Linked DNA regions of Homo sapiens: all the other regions are linked to region 4. Evidence: promoter capture Hi-C in 16 types of primary human blood cells and fetal thymus (Javierre and others, 2016). All regions are on one chromosome and are shown on one strand. Each heading gives the region's core, a stretch centred on a gene start or on the middle of the fragment in contact. The rest is flanking DNA. Distances are from core to core; before and after follow the strand shown. Region 1 holds the start of RFX5 (regulatory factor X5). Region 2 holds the start of TNFAIP8L2 (TNF alpha induced protein 8 like 2). Region 3 holds the start of CDC42SE1 (CDC42 small effector 1). Region 4 holds the start of TARS2 (threonyl-tRNA synthetase 2, mitochondrial).

What was found. Contacts are between HindIII fragments. The CHiCAGO score rates a contact against its expected background, and 5 or more counts as called.
Region 1: a contact is called between the fragment with the promoter of RFX5 here and the fragment with the promoter of TARS2 in region 4, in 2 of 17 cell types (neutrophils and total CD8 T cells). The highest score is 6.2, in neutrophils.
Region 2: a contact is called between the fragment with the promoter of TNFAIP8L2 here and the fragment with the promoter of TARS2 in region 4, in 5 of 17 cell types (fetal thymus, total B cells, non-activated CD4 T cells and 2 more). The highest score is 10.4, in fetal thymus.
Region 3: a contact is called between the fragment with the promoter of CDC42SE1 here and the fragment with the promoter of TARS2 in region 4, in 1 of 17 cell types (neutrophils). The highest score is 5.3, in neutrophils.

What each region holds. Positions count from the first base shown.
Region 1 is chr1:151,346,002-151,348,961 of GRCh38, reverse strand. It overlaps RFX5 (regulatory factor X5), which reads left to right and starts at 1,710. Exons shown (of 11, transcript NM_001025603.2): 1 at 1,710-1,751; 2 at 2,356-2,473; 3 at 2,629-2,757. The coding sequence starts at 2,642. RFX5-AS1 (RFX5 antisense RNA 1) reads right to left here and starts at 1,952. Exons shown (of 2, transcript NR_131972.1): 1 at 1,774-1,952; 2 at 1,071-1,330. RefSeq lists enhancers at 1,296-1,645, 1,612-2,194, 1,249-2,448, 2,788-2,877. The HindIII fragment of the contact is 13,633 bases long and covers 1-2,960 here.
Region 2 is chr1:151,154,949-151,158,209 of GRCh38, reverse strand. It overlaps TNFAIP8L2 (TNF alpha induced protein 8 like 2), which reads right to left and starts at 1,561. Exons shown (of 2, transcript NM_024575.5): 1 at 1,488-1,561. It overlaps TNFAIP8L2-SCNM1 (TNFAIP8L2-SCNM1 readthrough), which reads right to left and starts at 1,561. Exons shown (of 7, transcript NR_144937.2): 1 at 1,488-1,561. It also overlaps a transcript of LYSMD1 not described here. The HindIII fragment of the contact is 1,285 bases long and covers 1,551-2,835 here.
Region 3 is chr1:151,058,011-151,061,047 of GRCh38, reverse strand. CDC42SE1 (CDC42 small effector 1) reads left to right here and starts at 1,426. Exons shown (of 5, transcript NM_020239.4): 1 at 1,426-1,569. It overlaps MLLT11 (MLLT11 transcription factor 7 cofactor), which reads right to left and starts at 651. Exons shown (of 2, transcript NM_006818.4): 1 at 495-651. RefSeq lists an enhancer at 514-1,105 and silencers at 2,969-3,018, 3,029-3,037. The HindIII fragment of the contact is 10,016 bases long and covers 1-3,037 here.
Region 4 is chr1:150,485,625-150,488,792 of GRCh38, reverse strand. TARS2 (threonyl-tRNA synthetase 2, mitochondrial) reads right to left here and starts at 1,374. Exons shown (of 18, transcript NM_025150.5): 1 at 1,277-1,374; 2 at 739-935. The coding sequence starts at 1,342. RefSeq lists enhancers at 1,280-1,549, 1,043-1,549. The HindIII fragment of the contact is 2,845 bases long and covers 390-3,168 here.

The DNA.
Region 1 (2,960 bases), core at 461-2,960, 860 kb before region 4:
CATGCGCCACCACGCCCGGCTAATCTTGTATTTTTAGTAGAGACGGGGTTTCTTCATGTTGGTCAAGCTGGTCTCGAACTCCCAACCTTAGGTGATCCGCCCACCTCAGCCTCCCAAAGTTTTGGGATTACAGGCGTGAGCCACCGCGCCTGGCCTAATAAACACCAAATAAATTTTAGCTGTTATTAGAAAACCTGGCCAGGTGCAGTGGCTCACACCTGTAATCCCAGCACTTTGGGAGGCCAAGGCAGGTGGATCACCTGAAGTCAGGAGTTTGAGACCAGCCTGACCAACATGGTGAAACTCCGTCTCTACTAAAAACACAAAAATTATCTGGGCGTGGTGATGCACGTCTGTAAACCCAGTTACTCGGGAGGGTGAGGCAGGAGAATCGCTTGAACCCAGGAGGCGGAGGTTGCAGTGAGCCAAGATCGTGCCATTGCACTCCAGCCTGGGCAACAGAGCGAGACTCCGTCTCAAAGAAAAAAAAAAAAGAAAGAAAGAAAGAAAAAAGAAAACCTCTTGCCAATATATCCTTATTGCCCCAACTCCACAATCTCCTGGGTTCCCCCAGCACTCATAGAAGCTGATAATAGGGAAAGGTAGGCTGTAAAGGGCAATGGTGATGAGCTCAGGCAGCACTACTGTCTTCTTTACAAAAGCACATTAATGATGAGCCTGGAGAACATATTAGATGTCAGGATGGCAAATACAGTTTTGGTTGTAACATGACCGCTGCGCAAAACAAAATACATCCATGTAAGAGGCTTTCAACCTGGAGTCCATGACCTCTCTGAAATTAGATGCAAAACTTGGTCTCTGTGTGCATTTTTCATGGTAGAGGGTCCATTGCTTTTGTCTGATTCATAACCTTAAAATGTCTTAAGTAAGAGGGTTAAGAACCCATGACCTATTCAGTACAATGTTCCCTGAGTGTAAAAAGTTCCTGTGGCATCCAGCACCCCCGTGGGAGTCCATCAAAATTCCAGGGTTCACCGACTGCAGAACTATGGGGATGCAAATGCATTTGCAACTCTTTGGAAGTAAAGTACACACGGGAAACCAAGAAATACTAAGAGGGAAAAAGCATTTTAGTTTAATGGGTACAACTGCTGAGGTTTTGAGGCCTCCATCAAGAAGGAAAAGAGAGCCCAGATTGCAGGTCTGTTGCGAGTAAGTGTGTCTGCAGGTTGTATTAGGCATGTGGTGATGGTGATGGGGGGTTATAGGAGCTTACAGTGAACTTCCATCACTCCTACCCATCATTGTCTAGTTATTTTATCATCCATTGATTCTTCTCTTCCGGCAGCTCTGAGGACCGTAGACTAAACTGAAACACAAAAGGGGAGGGCAAAAGAAAAGACAGTTCCAAAGGGAGCCGAGCGCCCGTTCTTTCATCCTGCGGTCCCTTTAAGAGAAGAACCTCTTGGGACCTGCAGTCCCAACCGACCCCAGTTTTAACCGAAACCCAACCCGGACTTCCCCCTCTTGACTCAAATAAGACCAACTTTGGATTTTCCCTCCCCTATTGACCAATCAGATTCTGTTACCAGGCAGACTTCAGCGGCCGCCGGTACGAGCCCGGCGCCTTCTGTCTCCGGGTGGCAGCAGTGACCAATGACAGAGCAGGCCGCCCGTGTATCTAGGCAGATCGCGGCTGTTACAACCATTCAGAAAAAGGAAAATAAAGCAACGCACGAGCCGGCTGGGCCAGGACCTTGGGGCTGGGCTGGAGTGAAGGTGGCTACGAGGTAGTTTCTCTTTCTCCCTTACCTTTATTGTTGCTTGTGTTGGAAGGCGACTGTTCAGAGGTAGGGAGGGGCAAGATGAGTTGGGAGGAGAGCAGAAAAAGATTGTAGCTGTATTTTCAACAGCTTCTTCACCCATGTGCACGTGCCCGGAATCTGGGACCCCATTCCCCTGCCGGGTTTCTGACGCCCAGCGCATGAGTTCCGCTACCCCGCCCCACCCCCGCTCCACTTTGCAGAAACCGGGGATTGAATGGAGGGGGAAGGGAAGGAGGTGGGGGCGCGCCTCAGGATGGGCTGTTGTGGGAGATGACGTAGGGGCCGGCGACGTGGGGAGGGGGAGCAGCGGGGGAAGTCGTGGCGAGATTAAGTAATGAGAACTTGGGCCCAGTTTTTTTTCCAAGCCTAGAAGGGCAGAATATGTTCGTATCCTTTCTGACCTCCCAGGCATATGCAATGGTGAGGAGTATTTTTGAGAATTAGAGAACTTTGTTTTGTGGCTGTTATTGTTGTTTTTGAGGGGGAGGAGGGCAGTATGGGGTCAGAGGCAGAAATGAAAATTTCTTGCTAACATGGATTCCCAATCCCCCTATCTCTTCCTTTACAGTTTTCCAGATTTAGGAGACTTCAGAAAGGTGGGGCAGATAGAATGGAGATGGCAAAGATCTCTTTGGGCATATATGGGCCTGGCGAAGTAATGGAATAATTTCTAATTTTCGGAGAAGGCAAGTGGTGAGAAAAAGACCACCGGGGAAATTCGGAGGCTTTGTTTCTGTTTCTCTGCCTTTCTGGGTAAAGAGATGAGGAGTGCCCTGGGGCCTTCTGGGGAAGGGAAGGCCAGTGTGAGTTACATCTTTATGCCTGTCCCTCTCAATTCTAGCCCTCATGCCGGGATGGCAGAAGATGAGCCTGATGCTAAGAGCCCCAAGACTGGGGGAAGGGCCCCCCCAGGTGGTGCTGAGGCTGGGGAACCTACCACCCTTCTTCAGAGGCTCCGAGGTACCATTTCGTAAGTACTCATCACATCTCCAAGTCCTGTCCAAGACCTGAGTATAGATCCCTGCAGCACTTCACTTTGGCTGTAGATGAACTGCCTCTCAGCAAGGGCATGGGAGCAGAGGGAGATTTTTGGCCATGGTAGCAATTCTTGAGCACCTGCTGGGCATTTCAGTCCTTTTCCCTCCCTAGCAGTCAGATAAAGAGACAGGGAAA
Region 2 (3,261 bases), core at 312-2,811, 670 kb before region 4:
TTGGGATTACAGGCACCCACCACCACGCCCGGCTAATTTTTGTATTTTTAGTAGAGACAGCGTTTCACCATGTTGGCCAGACTGGTCTCGAACTCCTGACCTCATGATCTGCCCACCTCGGCCTCCCAAAGTGCCGGGAATACAGGCGTGAGCCACCACGCCCAGCCTGACAGAATTCTTACAGCTACCATTTTTGGACACTGACTCTGTGCCATATGTCTGTGTGGCATAGATATTACCATCCTTGTTTTACAGCTAAGCAAATGATACTTACATTAAGTAATTTACCCAAGATCAAACGCAACTCATTTTTTGGCCCCCAAAGCCAGTGGCAGCTAGTGCACTATACTTCCTTTAAAGTAAGAAGCATAAGCATCCCAGGAATCCTAATAGGAGTAATAACTAACATTTACTGAGAACCTACTATATGCAAGTGCTTTACGTCAGTCATCTTAGCCTTCCCAATCCTGTGTAAGGTTAGGGTAGGTATCCCCATTTTGCAATGAGAAAACTGAAGCGAAGAGAAATATAGCAATTTGGCCAAAGTCACTAGTAAATTATAAAGATGGGCTTCAAACCAAATAATCCAGAGAAACCTCCTTCCCCGGAATGCTCCCAGTGTGGTTAAAGCACACTGAGGAAGCACGAGAAGCCAACACCTCAAGAAGGGCAGGCAGTCCTGAAGGTCTGAGCCTTCTGCTACACTGAACTCAGGACCCTCTTGGTGGCATATCAGCTCCATGTGTCCAGGGTTCTCTCCCCATGGTCTTCGCCTGTGGTTCTTCTGGTTGTTTTGCTTCTTACTTCCCCCTCCTCTGCTCTGCAGGATGTGGCTGTGACCGCAGTGAGGAGCAGCCTCGCCCTCTCCCCCAAACCAAAATGGGAGTCTGAAGAGGCAGAGGAGGTGGAGACTGTGGGGGTTTTTTTCCCCAGCTGAATCCTTCCAGTGGAAACCTGAACCTTGCTTTGCTCCCAGCTTGCCTTGGGGCTTTCTGGACCATGCTCCCCAGCCGGAAGAGGAGATTGCTCCATGTGAGCCTTCCTTCCTCCTTGGCCTTCCTGTTACCCAGCTCTCCATTGCCCCCATTGCCGTCTCACATTTATTCCGCTGTCTTCTCCCTCTCTCCCTGTTTCAGTCTCCCTTTTTCTCTTGTCTGGGTCCTCCCTATGATCCTCTGGCCTGGCCATACTCTCCCTCTGGCCCTTACCCATCTATCTCCTTGTTTCCTAAGATTTCCTTGCATTTCGCACACATCCATATGGATGTGGATCCACCTGCATCCCTCAGCCCTGCCCCCACCGCATCCAAAACCAGGTCTTTCAGAGGCTGCCTTGCCACCAGAAAAACTAAGCTAAGCTCTACAAAGGACCCAAGAATTGTACAAGCGAGAGTTTCACAATATGAAAAGCTAAGACTGAAAGAGCTAGAGATTCCTCTGCCACCATTACCCCTAAAGTCTACCATTCTGTCACTGCCGGTCCCTCACCTGCTGTGCTGGGTGCCAGTCTTGCCTTGGATGTTCCCGGAAAGCTTACAGAATGGAGAAGCTTCACTTAGTGTGAGAGCCCTTTGGCTTGGCCCCACCCCTTGAGCCCCGCCTACCTACTCTCTGCTTAACCTCCGGTTCATCACTTCTGTCACCAAGAAGGCCTATGGCCCAAGAGCAACCTAGAAATAAGACAAAGGTCAAAAAGAGTGGAATTCTGTTGGAAATAGTCTCAATTCTTTGAAGGGGGGAAAGGGATTTGCATCCTCCACTCTCAAATTGCTTCTTTCTTTTCTTGCTGCCCAGTTCCTGAAGATCCTGTCCTTACATTTCTACAGTACTGGGAAGGATGTAAAGCCCAAATTTCTGGGGTAGGAGGTCAGTGGGAAAAGTTCTGAAGATTGAAAGGTGGTGCTGTGGGGCAAGTATTTAATATATTATTCCAGTGATTGCCAGGTAAGAGCACAGACTGTCACAACCCTTAATACTGAAGGGAGGAAGGTGCTGGGACCAGGGCTGCTGCACCACAGGTGACCAGCAGGTGCCAGCACAGCACTGAATCACTAGCGTAGAGGAACAAGCCTACTGAGTTGCCTTTTTTTTTTTTTTTTTTTTTTTTTTTGAGACAGAGTTTTGCTCTTGTTGCCCAGGCTGGAGTGCAATGGGGTGATCTCGGCTCACTGCAACCTCTGCCTCCCGGGTTCAAGTGATTCTCCTGCCTCAACCTCCCAAGTAGCTGAAATTACAGGCCTGTGCCACCATGCCTGGCTTATTTTGTATTTTTAGTAGAGACGGTTTCACCATGTTGGCCAGGATCGTCTTGAACTCCTGACCTCAGGTGATCCACCTTGGCCTTCCAGAGTGCTGGGATTACAGGTGTGAGCCAACGCACCCCGCAGGGCCTACTGAGTAGGCTACTGTAGTAGCTACTTTGTAGCTGCTAAAGGGATACAAAATGAGGGGAAGCCACAATTGGGTTTTGTTTGTTTGTTTGTTGTTTTGTTTTTGAGATAGGGTCTCACTCTGTCGCCCAGGCCACAGTGCAGTGGCATCATCACAGCTGACTGCAGCCTTGACCTCCTGGGCTCAAGAGCTCTTCCTACTTCAGCCTCCCAAGTAGCTGGGACCAGAGGCTCACAAGCCTTCCTTTTTTTTGTAGAGAGGAGGGTCTAACTATGTTGCCCAGGCTGAACTTCTAAGCTCAAGCAATCCTCCTACCTTAGTCTCCCAAAGTGTTGGGATTACAGGCGTGAGCCACTGCACCCATCCTGGAAGTCACAGTTGTTGAATGAGACAAAAACACTTGCTATCAAGAATCTTATGGGGAATCTGGCGAGGGAAATAAGCTTAAACATAAAGAACAGTAATACTAGTCAAACAATGCCATTAACTTTAATGGAGATTTAAATAATTTTGAGAGTAAAGAAGCTTAATTATGATAGGGCTGAAGAGGTAGACTTGGAAAGATAGATTCAACTACTTAATAGCCAGAGATGGGGAAGAAGTCCCAGATGATGGGGACGGCATAAGCACATGCAGGAAAAAAACAAAATACAGGACGTTCTCAGGAAGTGGTGATTTATGTCTGGAATGTAAGTTGTTTGAGAGATAAGTGAAGAAGGAAAAAGATCAGATCATGGCAAACTTTAAAAAAGTTGCCCCAGGCCGGGCGCGGTGGCTCATGACTGTAATCCCAGCACTTTGGGAAGCCAAGGTGGGTGGATCACCTGAGGTCAGAAGTTTGAGACCAGCCTGGCCAACGTGGTGAAACCCT
Region 3 (3,037 bases), core at 177-2,676, 570 kb before region 4:
TTCGAGGTGGAATGAAAGAGATTATCCAAAGAAAGGTCAGGATTACACCCAACATTATCCCATATAACCCCCTCCCAAACTCCCTCCTACAGAGAAACATAGAACACTACAGAAAAAAATTGCAAGTATAGGGAAGTAGAGGACAGAGAGATACAGTAGGACTAAAAATTAAACAGCTGGTAAAACAAATTATGGTTTGAAAAGGAAGATAAGTAGACTGAAGATATTAAATACACAGGACAATAAATTACAGAAAAGGATACTTGAAATGAGGTAGGTGCTGAGAAATAACTACAAGTAAATTGTTAGAGATTAATGGTCTGTATAAGGTAACAAGGCATGGATGCTGTGAAGAAATAACTACCCATTGTTCATAGCGCCCCCTTCTCTCCTCTTCAGCTGTCCCCCACCTCATGTGGGGTCTTTCAATCTAACCATAAGCAGCCGCTCTTCTATCTTTGCAGCCCCCTGCCCCCTCCCTCAGTTTGGTTTACCTGTTATCAATCAATTACTGGCGTGTTCCAAAGATGGAGGGAGTGCCTCGGGAGCTCCGGGGTCTGCGCCGGGCTGGAGAAATACAAAGCTGTTGGGGCTTTGACGGCTTTGTCTTCTCACTCCTTTTCCCTCTTCAGTGACTGAGTCTGTCAGTTCACTCTCCCCCTGCAATGCAGCCCCTCCTAAGAAGGGCGGAAGGATTCCCCGCCCCCTCCTGCCTGACTCGGCTAATTCAAATGATAGGTTCCAGAACACTTGAGGGAAGGAGAGACGATGAAAGCATCTCCCTAGGCTCATTGGTCTGCGCTATTATTCCCGATCTCTTCCAGCACCCCCGTGCTGACTGGGGGCCCAATGAATGAGCAGTTAATTGCCCTCTAATTTTAGGTCCTCTAATTTATGGATTTGAAATCTTAACTCTAGACTACAATGGAAAGGAGGAGTATTCCTTTCTTCCACAATTTAAGGACTTTAGGTTACAAAGTATTTTTAAGAATCAGAGTATTTTTCCACCCCTTCTCCCAATCCCTGCTCCTCCAGACTCGCCTCTCTACCCTCACAATGGGTAAATAAACCTAGTCCTATTCCATTTTGGGTAGAGCACAATAAATTTGGGGTGGGGGGCGTGCTTCTGCGAATCTCTGAACTTGGTTAGGTCTGGGGGTTTGGGGGGCTCCGCTTCGTTTTGCCCCGAAATGCCTGGCGAGTAAAGGGAACGTGAGATTCCGGGGGCCCCAGCTTGGGTGCCAGGGCCTCATCTAGGTGTCCGCATTCTCCAGTTCTCCCCGCAGGGGCGGCGGCCTTGAGGGGCTGCAGAGGCACCCTCCCACGTCCCGCGCAGTGCAGTGCCTCCGCAGTCCAGAGGGGAGCAGTGCGCCGGGCTCCGAGCCGGACGGGTTTCGTAATCGCGTCGCCGCCGCTTCCGCCCTCAGCCGGCCCCACCTCTGCCGGCTCGTACTCGGCTCCCCCACCTCGCCGCAGAGCTAGCCCGGGAAGCCCACACTGGCGGCCACGGAGCAGAGTCCCTCACCCCCACCAGCTGTAGCTGAACGTCTGGATGGTGGAGAAGAGCAGGTGAGGCCGTGCAGTTGGTCCCCTGGCCCGCCTGCCGCGCCGGCCGGGCCAGGCGGAGACACACCGGATGCGGGGTGTGGGGGAGGCGGGTGTCCTGGGCTGCAGAGATGCTGGGGTGGTGGGAAAGGGGTGCGCGCCCGGGGTGGCCGTAGTCATCCACGCTCCTGGGGTGCGCAGGCTGAGGCCGCTGAAGAGTAGAAGGAAAAGAAGGAACTGGAATGTTGGGGGAGGTGGGAGGGAGAGGGTCCGAAAGATTCCCAGAGAGGTCCCAGTCCGGTTAAGGGTTGAGAACAGCAGAGAACTTCTAGGTAGAGTTGTGTAGTGGGGGGAGACAGATACGGAATCTGTGTGATTGAATATATTTGGGGAGGGGAGGCTTAGGGCCTAGCCCTCTTTCCTCTTAAGCCCCCAGAAGACCTTTCCTGGGGAAGGGAAGGTTGGTGTTGGGCCTGTCACTTGGCTGAAATATGGAGTCCACACCGCTTCTCCAGAGTCCCTCAGCAGCCCTCCATGTCTCGGGGTCTCCACACAGGGACCAGCTGCTGCCCCGGGCTTCTAGCCAGAATTGCCCATGCCATTCTCTCGATTCTTTCTTTCTCTCCAGCTGCTTCATGTGAGGGCTTGTCAGGCCGCGGGTTGGAGGCCTTAGGGCCAGAGGCGGTGGGACCGGGAGAACCGGTTTGGGGCCCGAACAGGACCAGAGAACTAGCCTGTACATCCTTCCTCCCTGGCACCTCTTTCCCATCCCTTCTGCTCACCTCCCAACAGCTCTGAGACCCTCAAGTCCTAGTATGATCTTGGTGGGGGCGGGGGGTGGCTTTCCCGGTTCCATATTTCACTCTTGCCATTTGGAACTCAGAGAGGTCGAGTTCTGAGCACCACTTGGCTCTCAGGACGTGGCCTTATGAGGTCTAATCCTCATCCCTCCTGTTGTTTTCTCAGCCCCTTCCCTATTCACTGTGGGGTTGGATTCGGGTGGCTCTTCCGCCTGGGCTGACCAGCTCAGGACTTCATTTTTCCTCAACCCACTCTCTTCTGGCTGCTTTAAAGAAGAGTGGCCGCCAGTGGCTCTTACTTCCTTTTCTGGCTTTGTTCCCATCCCCCACTGCCCTGCGCTACCATCACATTCACCCTGACCTGTCTTCTTCACACTCTGACCCCACCCTCAAGTTTCAGAGACCCTAATGTCCTAGGGAATGGAATTTCCTGGTCACTTCTCGTCATCATTGGTCATTTCATGCCAAGTCCCACACACACGCTTTCCCTCCACCCAGCTCTGGTCAGGTCCCTGGAAAAGAAACAGAAATGGCCTTGTTCTCTCCACTGCCCCTTTCCCTCTCTCCTTCTCCTCCCCCTCTCTTCTCTTCCCTCCCAGCACTATCCACCTCTGTCCCTCAGCTTTGAGCAGAGTGGGGGATGTTGAGGGAGAGTCCAGTCACAGTACAGCCTGCCTGCTGGTGTTGGGGGT
Region 4 (3,168 bases), core at 125-2,624:
AGGTTGGCTAATGGGTACAAAAATAGAGTTAGACAGAAGGAATATGCTCTAATGTTCCATAGCAGAGTTGGGTGAATACAGTTAATAATAATTTATTGTATATTTCAAAATAGCTAGAAGATTTGAAATAGTCCCAACACAAAGAAATGATAAATGTTTGGGGTAACAGATATCCTGAACACCCTGATTTGATCATTACATATTGTATGCATATATCAAAATATCACATATACCCATTCATATGTTCAATTATTATGTATCAATTATTAAAAAGTAAATTAATGATTTAAAACAGACAGGGTTACAATCCACAGTGGGGAGAAAGTTGCTCATCTCTCAGCAACTGTAAACTTGCAAAGGTGAAATGAGTTACCAGAGCAACAGAAGCTTTCATTTCTTTCCCCAATGAAAGGACAGAGACTCTGATGCAGAAACTAATACAGATAAAACAAATCTCAGGCCGGGTTTGGTGGCTCATGCCTGTAATCCCAGCACTTCGGGAGGCTGAGATGGAAGGATCGCTTGAGCCCAGGAGTTCAAGACTAGCCTGGGCAACATGGAGAGACCCCGTCTGTATAAAAGAACAACAACAAAAAACAAAAACAAAATCTTCAGGAAAGGCTATCTTAATGGGGACGGAACAGAAACAAGCAGACCAAGTTTTCTTCCCCTGCTCAAGTGAAGAGAAAGTAAAGGGGCAGAAGGATAATCCTGGTAGTTACAGGATGGGCCTGTTACCTGATCTGCCGGGCTAGTTGGTAGGGGGTTGTGTTCCATGCCACAGCATCAATTTTCTGGCCTCCAGGAAGTGATATCTTAATAGTCCGGGGTTCCTTCTGTGCCATGCTTGCTAATCTCTTTACCTGAGCAGCCCACAGCTCCTCAAAAAGGCCAAGCCGCTCTGCCAACCAGCGTGGAGGGGTCGACACAACTGCCTGGAGGGAAAGATATATTAGCAGGTAACACACGTCCCATCATTCTTTCTTAGAATTGCAGATGATGGCACTTTGGGATGGTTAAGTGGACTTCGTCCGAATTCCTACTTTTTAAGGGGATTGGGTGATACAAGACCCTAGGCTGGGGGTCCTTCGAGCTCAGAGTCCCCCAGACCGCTAACTCGAGAATTAGATAACGAGTTTAGATACGAGTCCTTTTCTGGGGACTCGGAGGACCAGGGAGAGGAGGAGTGGCGTGAGGCTGGGTTAACATAAAAATTTGGGGGCTTCGGCTGGGCTAAGTCTGATGCGGATCGGAGCTTTGGGGGTGCCTCACGCACCGTGTGTAGCCTGCAAGCCTGTAAACCTTGGAGCCGGAGACACCGCCACCTCTGATACAGGGCCATGTTCCTTCACACCAGTGCCTACATCCTCAAACAGATTATCGCCGCTTCTCCTCCACGTAATTCTTCATTGGCTTCTGGTCCAACAAAGTCCGTGTCTATTGGTTACTACAGCTGCCACTCTAGTCTGGCACCACCTCCAGGAACTCCGAAGAGGTACACCCTACACAGCACCAGCAGCGGTGTGAGTGGTTCCGGCTGACCGGAAGACCGAAAATGTAACACACCCTCGCTATTCCCCCAGACCCGTGGCGTTTCAGCTGAAACCCAAAAATAGCAATTAGGCGTCCTGTGGCTTTGAGGACAAGGGCAGGTGAACTTTTGAGGGCGAGAGTGGGAGAAAACCAGACAGGAAATGGTAGTAATTTCCCTTTAACTATACATTTTATTTTACGTGGTCCTTACAGCAAGTAGCAAAACTTAAGAGCATAGACTGGGGAACCAGACAGACCTAGTGTAAATTCTGGATCTGCCATTAACTATGTAATTTTGGGAAAATTATTAAACTTCTCATATTTATTTAATAGAGACCGGGGGGGGCGGGAGGGGGGGGCGGGTCTCACTATGTTGGCCAGGGTAGTCTCGAACTCCTGGCCTCAAGCAATCCCTCCCCTCCCCCCCACCAAACCGCCACCGCGCTCCGGCCTCCCAGAGTTCTGGAATTACAGGCATGAGCCGCCTTGCCTGACCTATTTAATTTCTCTAAGCCTCAATTTTCTCAACTATAAAATGAGAATAGTGTTGCTCCCAATTGTTGAGTTAAATTTTATGTAAATCGTCTAGTGTGGCCCATGGTTTTTTGGTAATGGGCAAAAGCAACAAGAAGCTATTATGATAAATGACTGTAACAGTTTTATTTTTTAATTTTGAGACAAGGTCTCACCGTTGCCCAGGCTGGAGTGCAGGGGTACAATCATGGCTCACTGCAGTCTCGACCTCCTGGGCTCAACTGACCACCTCAGCCTCTGGAGTAACCACTTTAAAGCTGGAGCAAAGATGGCCGCGCGCAGTGGCTCACGCTGTAATCCCAGCACTTTGGGAGGCCGAGGCAGGTGGATCACCTGAGGTCAGGAGTTCTAGACCAGCCTGGCCAACATGGTGAAACCCCGTCTCTACTAAAAATACAAAAATTAGCTGGGCGTGGTGGTGGGCGCCTGTAATCCCAGCTACTTGGGAGGCCGAGGCGGGTGGATCACCTGAGGTCAGGAGTTCTAGACCAGCCTGGCCAACATGGTGAAACCCCGTCTCTACTAAAAATACAAAAATTAGCTGGGCATGGTGGTGGGCGCCTGTAATCCCAGCTACTTGGGAGGCTGAGACAGGAGAATCGCTTGAACCCGGGAGGTGGAGGTTGCAGTGAGCCGAGATCACGCCATGCACTCCAGCCTGGGGGACAAGAGCGAGACTTCATCTCAAAACAAAACAAAAACAAAAAAGCTGGAATCAAGAATCTGCAGAGGTCAGTTTGAGTCCCTTTATACTCATGGTGCTTAATAGGGACTTTATAGACCTTTTAATCTTTTTTTTTTTTTTTTGAGATGGAGTTTCACTCTTGTTGCCCAGGCTGGAGTGCAGTGGCGTGATCTCGGCTTACCGCAACCTCCGCCTCCCCAGGTTCAAGCGCTTCTCCTGCCTCAGCCTCCCGAGTAGCTGGGATTACAGGCATGTGCCACCCCAGGCCCAGCTAATTTTGTATTTTTAGTAGAGACAGGGTTTCTCCATGTTGGTCAGGCTGGTCCCGAACTCCCAGCATCAGGTGATCCGCCTGCCTCAGCCTCCCAAAGTGCTGGGATTACAGGCGTGAGCCACCATGCCCGGCCGAGACCTTT